Regions from separate parts of the Homo sapiens genome. Here region 1 is linked to region 2. The links are contacts of gene promoters, found by promoter capture Hi-C in blood cells and fetal thymus (Javierre and others, 2016). All regions are on one chromosome and are shown on one strand. The core of a region is centred on a gene start or on the middle of the fragment in contact, and the rest is flanking DNA. Distances in the headings are between cores, read along the strand shown.

Evidence for each region. The method cuts DNA at HindIII sites, captures the fragments that hold promoters and counts their contacts. A CHiCAGO score of 5 or more calls a contact.
Region 1: a contact is called between a fragment that was not itself captured here and the fragment with the promoter of METTL14 in region 2, in 1 of 17 cell types (activated CD4 T cells). The highest score is 5.7, in activated CD4 T cells.

Annotation. Positions count from the first base shown.
Region 1 is chr4:121,822,072-121,827,037 of GRCh38, reverse strand. BBS7 (Bardet-Biedl syndrome 7) reads left to right here. Exons shown (of 19, transcript NM_176824.3): 19 at 1,045-2,709. The coding sequence ends at 1,178. CCNA2 (cyclin A2) reads left to right here and starts at 3,155. Exons shown (of 8, transcript NM_001237.5): 1 at 3,155-3,622; 2 at 4,392-4,635. The coding sequence starts at 3,410. RefSeq lists enhancers at 3,307-3,376, 3,567-3,616. The HindIII fragment of the contact is 1,621 bases long and covers 521-2,141 here.
Region 2 is chr4:118,683,256-118,688,604 of GRCh38, reverse strand. METTL14 (methyltransferase 14, N6-adenosine-methyltransferase non-catalytic subunit) reads right to left here and starts at 3,213. Exons shown (of 11, transcript NM_020961.4): 1 at 3,005-3,213; 2 at 594-682. The coding sequence starts at 3,070. It overlaps METTL14-DT (METTL14 divergent transcript), which reads left to right and starts at 3,264. Exons shown (of 7, transcript NR_125930.1): 1 at 3,264-3,300; 2 at 4,138-4,197. RefSeq lists enhancers at 2,675-2,814, 2,995-3,254. The HindIII fragment of the contact is 9,570 bases long and covers 2,762-5,349 here.

The DNA.
Region 1 (4,966 bases), core at 82-2,581, 3.1 Mb before region 2:
TAAACTGACATGAGGTTTTATATATATTTTTTGTTTGTTTGTTTGTTTGTTTTTTGAGACAGAGTCTCGCTTGGTCTCCCAGGCTGGAGTCAGTGGCGCGATCTCGGCTTACTGCAGCCTCTGCCCCCTGGGTTCAAGCAATTCTCCTGCCTCAGCCTCCTGAGTAGCTGCGATTACAGGTGTGCGCCACCATGCCCAGCTAATTTTTTTGTACTTTTAGTAGAGACAGGGTTTCACCATATTGGCCAGGCTGGTCTCCAACCCCTGACTTCGTGATCTGCCCACCTCAGCCTCCCAAAGTGCTGGGATTACAGGCATGAGCCACCGTGCCCAGCCCAAGGTTATATCTTTTTTATTCCACTTAGTGCAAATATTCATCCGTATATTTTGTGCCAGAAATAGTACTATGTTTTGCTATTGGATGCTGCTACTCAGTCCCCTTGGGGTTAATACCATAGTATATTCCTTTCATTATCTTCCTAAAATAGGAAAAATTCTGAAATACATCTTGCATCAAGCTTTTTGGATAAAGGATTGACAGCTTGAATTATTCCTGTTTTACATATGAGAAAACTCAAGGTGAAATGATTTGCCCAGATCTTTGAACCTAGGACTATTTGCCTTCAAGTCAAATCCCAAGAATGGTCAACATATAGGTGGAATATTTTAATTCAGATAAGCTGTTAAAAATAGAATCTGCCTAGACTATGTCAAAATGGTCAGCTTGGTGGAAAAAATATACCACTTGTTGTGATGTTATATATACTGATAGCAGTTCAAAAATGGCCAGTAGTTGATTGTCTGAATTAATAGCTTGTAATCAATTGTTAAGAGGGTTATTAGGCAGATGATTTATATCTTGAAACTTGTTTTAAAATCCCCCCAAAATGACTATTTTTAAAAACATGGCTTTTAGGTTTGTGTATGTTAAATCATGGAATTACAGGTGCTTAAAAATAGATTATCAAGCAATTACTTTAGTGAAATACTGTGTCATTAAATATAACTAATCACTGACAGGAAATTTATGTTTTTTCTTTAAAGGCATGATCACTGATCTTTTCATAGATAAATTTAAGTTTAAAGGCACCAATGTAAAAACTAAAGTACCCCTTCTATTGGAAATTCTGGACAGTTATGACCAAAATGCATTGATTTCATTCTTCGATGCAGCATGACATACAAATAAGGTAAAGTCCCAAAGAAGTGGTCTGTTTAAATGAAAAATGTTAAAAGAGAATTAGAAGTTAACTGTGTATGTACTTTAATTTCAAATGCTTTTTTATATCTAAAAATATTTGAGATATAATGGCTTTTTAAAGTAATGCTTCTATTTCTTTTGACAAATTGAACTTTCTAAAACTAAAAGAGTCTTTTTATTTTTAAAACACAAGTAGAATGATTTAAATAGGATTTTAATGAATTTTTGGCAAGTGGCTGTTTTAATTTTTAAATTGAGAAGTAATATGTGGAAAATTAAAATATATTCAAATGTATTACAAGGTACATAAACACATAAACATGTAGACCGCTTTATAGGCTTCAAAATGTATTTTTATATATTACCTTATTTGATCTTCACAACTGTTGTAAAATTTGTCAAATCATATAAGAAAACTGATTCTCAGTGAAATTTTGTGATTAAGAGGACATGCTAATATTTTGTAAAGCTGGGACCAGAACCCAAGTACTGGTACTTGCTTTGTGTCCTGGTTACTATGTATGTTGCCAGCTAGTGGAAATAACCTACCAATTGTTTTTTCTAGGAGATAGGATTGATTTGCAACTGATATTCCTTTTGCTTGGTAGTGTTTTATGACTCTGCTGCAGTTTGTGGAAATGCTGGACTTGGCTCAGTGCTATAAATTGTAGCCAGGAAATAAGAAGAGCTTACACAGAGTCGGGGGATCTTAATTAGACATGCTGTAACCAGTGGAGCTATTCAGCGTGCTTCAAGTGAAGAGTGCAGAAATAGTGATGCCATCTTAGATTTTCCTACACTAGTATCTTCTAGATCTCTTTTTATCATATATGACATTAAGGCTACAGAAGTTTTGTGCATTAATCTTAATTCATATTTATTAATTTCAAGGGAATATTGAAAGGTTTTAAAATGGCATACAGATAATGGAAAATAAGCTTTATGTTTCAAGAAGGGCAGACTCACGAATTTTTTAGAAAACAGTGCTTCTTAATGATATGCTATTATACTTATTAGTTATGTGCAAGCTTTGTATATTCTTATATTTATATATAAATATAAAAATTTGTTAAAGGCACGTATAGTTAAGAGAGTTTTATTTTAATAAGGTCATATTGTTTTTACTATGTTTAAAAAACTTTACTTCTGAAAGGAACATAATTATATCTAGGTCACTAGAACGTCATTGTGTTTTTTGTTGGTTGCCACAGCTTGGGGAAAAATAGAAAAAAATTAATGACTGTATTTGAATATTTTGTAATGCACTGCTATTTATTATATATATCAACAGTAGTTCAAGGTGCCATCTTAAATTAATTGCATCTTCATTAGGAAAAATAAAAAGCATAAAACACAATTTCTGGTTACTATGAATAAACGCCTAAATGTTAAGATGACATTACAGTCTTGACACTTGAGTACTGTATTACTATGTGAGCTCCGTGTTAAATAATTTATGCACATTATTTAATCCTAACAACCATATGACTGTAGTTATTAGTCCCTATTAACACATAAGAAAACGGAGAATCGGAGATACTGAAAAACGTGCCCCAGATTTTAGACCTTTGGAAAAAGTCACTTAAGCTAACTAGACGTCCCAGAGCTAAAGGCTGGGCAACCCAAATGATAGTCGCCAAAGTTTAATTCCGTTTAATTCCCTAAAAGGCTTAGAGTCAGCCTTCGGACAGCCTCGCTCACTAGGTGGCTCAGCTTAAAATAATCGGAAGCGTCGGGCCCTAAATCCTACCTCTCCCCGCCCCGCGCAGGCGTTTTCTCCCGCCCCAGCCAGTTTGTTTCTCCCTCCTGCCCCGCCCCTGCTCAGTTTCCTTTGGTTTACCCTTCACTCGCCTGCGACCCTGTCGCCTTGAATGACGTCAAGGCCGCGAGCGCTTTCATTGGTCCATTTCAATAGTCGCGGGATACTTGAACTGCAAGAACAGCCGCCGCTCCGGCGGGCTGCTCGCTGCATCTCTGGGCGTCTTTGGCTCGCCACGCTGGGCAGTGCCTGCCTGCGCCTTTCGCAACCTCCTCGGCCCTGCGTGGTCTCGAGCTGGGTGAGCGAGCGGGCGGGCTGGTAGGCTGGCCTGGGCTGCGACCGGCGGCTACGACTATTCTTTGGCCGGGTCGGTGCGAGTGGTCGGCTGGGCAGAGTGCACGCTGCTTGGCGCCGCAGGCTGATCCCGCCGTCCACTCCCGGGAGCAGTGATGTTGGGCAACTCTGCGCCGGGGCCTGCGACCCGCGAGGCGGGCTCGGCGCTGCTAGCATTGCAGCAGACGGCGCTCCAAGAGGACCAGGAGAATATCAACCCGGAAAAGGCAGCGCCCGTCCAACAACCGCGGACCCGGGCCGCGCTGGCGGTACTGAAGTCCGGGAACCCGCGGGGTCTAGCGCAGCAGCAGAGGCCGAAGACGAGACGGGTAAAGGGATGCGGGATATCTGCAGGAGGGTGGGTCGAGCAGGGTTTGGCATTGGCTTAGCAGGCAGAGAAGAGTGGCGAGAAGGCATGTCCTGGGCTTTTGGAAGGGGGCCAGGGTCTGGAGTGCAGTTGGTGCTGGTGTGTGGTTTGCCACAGTAGGAGTTCTCCCATATTAGCATCAGGACCCCGCCAACACTGTGTGTATGCTGCCGGTCTGCTCTCTATAGGGGGCATCTGCCTGTACATAATGGGGTCAAACCAAGCTCTAAAACGTGTAGTCTTCGCTCAGCTCCGCGCCTTTCTCTCCACTTTTAAACCCCAGGCACTGCTGTAGGACTCTGACCCCTATCCTCCTCACGCTTAAGAGATGACCTCTACTTTAGAAAAGCGTGTACAAAATACTTTGCTTTTGGCAAATTCCGCCATTTTAGCCGGATTTGCTCTGTTGCTCCACCCTCGGGCGACAGTGGTGAACCAACAATTTTTTTGCTGTCTTTCCTAAACTTGTCACGTATTGGCCTGTCACCCGACCCTTCTTGTGGCCCTGATAAGTTTTGCATAATTCCACCTAGTGTTATCTATTGATAGCCTTTGTGGGAATGCCTGTGACAAATGGGAACATCCCTTCTCTTTTGAATACTGAAACTCTTCTTTGTCCCAGAAAGTTTAATTCCTGATAGAGTATTTGGGAGAAAAAGCAAAGGCCAACACCCATAAGAGAAAGAATGCAAGACTAGTAGGCTCAAAGCCAGTTATTAATTTTTTTTTAGGTTGCACCCCTTAAGGATCTTCCTGTAAATGATGAGCATGTCACCGTTCCTCCTTGGAAAGCAAACAGTAAACAGCCTGCGTTCACCATTCATGTGGATGAAGCAGAAAAAGAAGCTCAGAAGAAGCCAGCTGAATCTCAAAAAATAGAGCGTGAAGATGCCCTGGCTTTTAATTCAGCCATTAGTTTACCTGGACCCAGAAAACCATTGGTCCCTCTTGATTATCCAATGGATGGTAGTTTTGGTAAGTTTTAAGGAAAATCTGTGTGGAATTACGGTAATTATAATTATTAGATGATATTAATGATTTGCATTTTAAGATGTCTTATGTAGTCATTTTGACTATAGTGAGTTAGGTTTAATGTAACAAGGCTTAGAAAGGATGTGACTTATCTCAGATCTCACAGCTAACACTTGACTTGGTGACATACAAAAAGATCCTTATCCAGTGCTCTTTCAGGTTCACTGCCAGTCACATCAATCTAATTATAATTAGATCTTAAATGCTTATTTTAATCTGATCCCATAAATGTGTTCTTGGTTGGGAGAATAGATTTCAGTTTTATTTAACTCAC
Region 2 (5,349 bases), core at 1,964-4,463:
GGAACTTACTATCCTCAGAAAATAAATATTTTATAATTAATGAACTGACAATAAAAACCATTGTGTCTAAAATCATTATTTTGATGCTTTTCTTAATACACTGCATACCTACCTAGGGTTATTTATTAAAACAGTAATCCTTTCACATTTTTTTTTTTTTTTTGAGACGGAGTCTCACTCTGTCTCCCAGGCTGCAGTGCAGTGGCACAATCTTGGCTCAGCTCACTACAATCTCCGCCTCCCGGTTTCAAGCAATTCTACTGCCTAAGGCTCCCGAGTAGCGGGGATTACAGGAGCCCGCCACCATGTCTGGCTAATTTTTGTATTTTTAGTAGAGATGGGATTTCACCATGTTGGCCAGACTGGCCTCGAACTCCCGACTTCCTGGGCTCAAGTGATCCACCTGCCTCGGCACAGTGGCTCATATCTGTAATCTCAGCACTTTGGGAGGCCAAGGCAGGTGTACCACTTGAGCCCAGGAGTCAAGGCTGCAGTGAGCCATAATCATGCTACTGTACTCCAGCCTATCCAGCCTAAGCAACAGAGTGAAACCCTGTCTCAAAAAAAAAAAAAAAAAGAATTATCTGACTGACCTGCAAGTTTCTCTTGTTTCAGCAATTTCTCTCTGCTCATCTTTGCTATTTAACACGGCACCAATGCTGTCGGCACTTTCAGCTCCCAACTGAGAAAAGACAAAATCAGAAATTAGATTGCAATGCACTGGATAGCCTTTCTGGGCATTTGTAGCAGCATTTAATACATTAAATACTTAAAAAACAAAAACACCTTAATTCACACACACACACACACACACAAAACAATGAATTAATCAGCTTGCAAGACAAACTGGAAAAACTCTGGAAAAAAACCGCATTAATTAAGATGAGTTTGACAGCTGGCAAAACATTTTATGCTTTCAGTTATACAGCGGCTCCTTGATTTATGATGAGGTTATGTCCTGATAAACCCATTGTAAGTTGAAAGTAAATCTGTTTCAAAATAAACGTTGTAAGTGTGTTTTCAAGTTACAATATTTTCCACTTATGATGGGTTTATCAGAACACAACTCCACCGTAAGTCAATGAGCAGCCTGGATGCCTATCACTCTCAAACCATCATAAAGTCAATTGTTAAGTCAAATGATAGTAAGTCTGGAACCATCTGTATTTGAAAATAAGACACTTTAGCCAATTTCCTGTGAAGCAATACACACGATTTAATATAAAATGAGCATTCCAAATCTGAAAATCCAAAATCCAAAACGCTCCAAAATCTGGAACTTTTTGAGTACTGACATGACATTCAAAGGAAATGGTCACTGAAGCATTCCGATTTTGAGTTTTGGTATTTGGCATGCTCAACCAGTAAGTAATATGCAAATATTCCAAATCCTGAAAAAAATCTGAAATCCAAAACACTTCTGGCCCAAGCATTTCAGATAAGAGATATTCAACCTGCAATAGCAATAACTAAAAAAGGCAGATAAGACAGTGTTTGCACAGGGTTGTGGGTACCATGTTAAACATTTTGTAGGCATCAGCTTATATAACTTATTTATTCTATGCTCTAATAAAAATCGATCCAGTTTTACTCAAGCTAAGTCTTACTATTTATAGACACAAGGCTGAACTTTACTACCTTAAAATGGTAACATAAATTTTGTTTGGCAGTTTGGAAAATTTTGCAAAATACAAACAAATGTAAACAAATAATGGTTATAAGGCTGGCTAAGTAGAGTGCAACCAATTCATAAAAGACTTTAAAAGGTAGAGCCCCTGGCATCTGCTGAGTGTAAAACACTAAACAAATAATTGTCCTATGAATGTATATTGAGTCAAATAGAAGTTTGAATTCAATATTAAGGAGTAAAACGTCTTCTGTGGTAGCAACAAAGAGCTACTTAACATTTTTGAAGATAATACGATAAAAGAAGTTGGCGAAAAGAAGACTTAGAAAGGATACTTGATTTGCCCAAGATCGTAATGCCAGCGGGATAAGGAACAAAGGAACAAATCTGACTCCAAGTTTCCACGGTTTTAGCCATATTCCACAAATCTGTTCATCAGACCATAAAGAGGATAGGTTTCAGAAGTCCATTTACTAAAACCAAGTTTCATTACTGAAAAATAACTGCAAGATGACTAATTACACTCTATGAGCATTGCTCCTATCACTTTTACTGATCTGAATAGTAGAATGGAAAATACAGCCTCGATTTTAAGTAGAACTGTGCACAATCTGTATTTTCTGCATGTGCACTCTACTAATCAGCAAATGTTAACTTACTCATACACAAGAAAGAAGTGAAGGACAATGGTTTAGAAGACAAGCTTTGGGGAGACAAACCTAGGTTCTATTTCCCAGCAGAGAAGTGAGCGACCAGGAGTAAAATTCCTTAACGTATGGAGCCTTTTTCATTACTTGATAAGTGAAGGTAATAATACCTGTTTCAGGAGATTATTGTGACTAACACAGAGTAAGATTTCAAATATTAACTGTGGATGTGACAAGGATACTCTATATAAGATGCAGAATCTAAAATTTACACTCAGGCTACTTCCAGTGTTGTCTTCAGAAAGATGTCAAAGAAAATACTGTAAACGTATTTCATAATGAAACCACAATCTCAAGAATTTGGGGCTGACGACGAAGAAAAGAAAGAAATAGATGACCATTTAATAGTGAAGAGAAATGTAGGGGATAACATGACACTCATCCTGGCGTGAACATGCCAGACACTCGGTGGGAGTTCCACAAAGCTTAAAGGCTAATCCTGGCATTCGGTTTAGCACCACAAAGACCGCGGAAGGAACTGGAAAAACATTCGGGACACCGCGAAAATTGAGAACTACAAAGGCAGAACCAGGGATCAAGATCGCAGGACCAGAAAGGCCTTAACAGCGGCAGGTAGAGAAGGGACAGAAAAAGGCGGGGTGTGGAGGGAGGAGGCGGCCGCGCACTCGCATTCTCGATCCCTCCCACAGGGGACACCAGGGCCGCGGACCTGCTGCGCGAGGAGCTGTCGCCGTAACTTCTGCCGCTCCCGGATCTCCTGCAAGCGGCTATCCATGTTCCAACTCCGGCTTTTCACTATCCCGAGTACTTGTCAATCTCCAGTGAACTCTTATCCAACCTTTCTTCCGAGTCTGTGGAACAAAATTCACCGGGAGCTTACGAACAGAGTATCCTCATAGCTTTCCTCAGTAGAGACTTCCGGCGCGGCCGGAATTGGCTCGCTTGGCCCGGAAGTCCCGCCTCCTTCTGGACGCTTGCTATGTGACGCCACTTGGAAGGGACCCAGTAAGGGATCTGTTGCGCCACAGGGGTCTCCAGGGCCCTCGCAGGTTGGGGTGGTCTGAGCTAGTCTGAAGGAGGACAGTCAGCTGACTTCTCCTTTATCTCTCTTTCCCAGGATAGCAGGTTCCCTTGGTGTATTACAGTTTCTGAAGTGTTGATTCCCTTTTCAATTGATTCCACAGATGACAGTCCTGACGTTTAAAAAATTGCCAGATAACCTTTAATTTTTTTTTTTTTAACAGAACACAAACTTAAGCCAGATTGCCTAGGATTGAACCTTGGCCTCTCACTTCCTAGACGAGTGGCCTTGGCTAGTTAACCACCTTCGTGAGCCTCAGTTTTGTCATCTGTAAAATGGGAGTCATAAGTGTCTACCTCACAGAGCTGTGATTGAAAGGATAAATAGCACCTTGCACATAGCGGTGTAGAAGTGCTTGTTATTGTTAATATTTTATTTACCTTCACGCAGGTAACAGCCACAACATCTGCCCACTCTTCCCCACACCTTACTGTCCCTTGAAATGTTTCCCATTTTACTATAGTATGCATTTTTTGGCTTCTTCCCTTTAGGGAAATGAGTATGTGATAGTAAAGCGTGTCTTGGTTTATGTCCTAGGAGTCAGAAGCTAAGAGACTCCTTTTTGTGCTTGTACATTTGTCTTAACTGAAAATAACCCAAGGATAAGGAAACAAATAGCTTCCTGAAATTACTCGGATTGCGGGGGTGAGGGGTGAGGGCTGGGGGGTGGTGATTCTGTCTTCATAGGATGGCAGCAAAGGCCAAAGTCTTATTTGAGTTATTACCATTATTATTCACCACACTTGCCATCTTATTTCAAGCCTACAGTGGCGGAAGTGGAGTAAGACATCATGTTGCCTCAAGTTTAATTGGAAATCGCGGTAAGTACTTAACAAAATTAGTAATAAGTCTGTTCTTTCAGAGTAGATTTAATTTTCAGAAATAATATTAAGTCATCCAGATCAAAACCAGTTGAGTCAGGCTGGGCCAAAAGTGGGCAAGACTAGATTCTACTTAGTCATGCCCACTTTTATAGAAATAATTATAATGTATTTCCGAAGAACTAGGTCTGAAAGACAATTTTGAACAAGTAGTCCTAAACAATTCCTTGAGTAATGTCAGCACTACTTGGATACTGTAAAATATTTATGTCCATATGAGTTAAAGTGTATTTCTTTAAAAATCAGTTGTATTATCTGGCAATCATTTAAGTTGAATACTGATTTAAATTTTACCAATGGTGAGAATAGGCAATTATTCACTTAAATATCTGTTGATATTGATTGAGCATTTTATATGGCAAGCACTGTGATAGGCCCTAGAGTCTATAAAGTCTGTCAAAGATTAAAAACTAAAGTCGGTTTTTCTTTATGAGTTTACTGTCTAATGGAGGATTTTTCTTTTTCCTGATAAGTTGCTATGCAGGTTACTTGCTTGTAATCTTTGAACCCCATACTCACCTACCCTCTGCTTCGAGATGATGGCTAGGCAGGGAGTCCACAAACTACATTTCCCAGCCTTCCTTGTTAGATGGCTTCCTGTAAGACTCTGCCCACAGGAGGCACAGGCAGGAAATCAAAAGGTGGAACATGGGAAAGCTATTGTCCATTTATTTTACTCTCTGCTTCTGGCATCTAGAGCGATGACTATGTCCCTTACAAAGTCTAGAGCCAGTTGGAGCAGCCCCTCCTTTCCTTACCTTAAGAAAGTGACACCCTTAACAGTGAGTGAGTTTGCTCTTGTGCTATGATACTACTACTTCTACCTTCTGTTCCACCAGCTCAAGGACTGGTAGCCATCCTGCAGTTTAAAATTTCTGATTTAATCTTACTTCTCCCTTTTTGCTCTTCTAGCCTTCAATATCTGCTTAACTATTTCTCCATAGTGAATGGCGTCTGTTTAAAATACTTTTAATTATTTGTTTTCCTGCCTGGAACTGTACTGATGCAGATATGTACTTCCATGTAATATTTACAAAACTGTTGGAGTTGGGCAGAGGGTTGTTGCAGTTTGTACAAAGAAGGGGATATAAT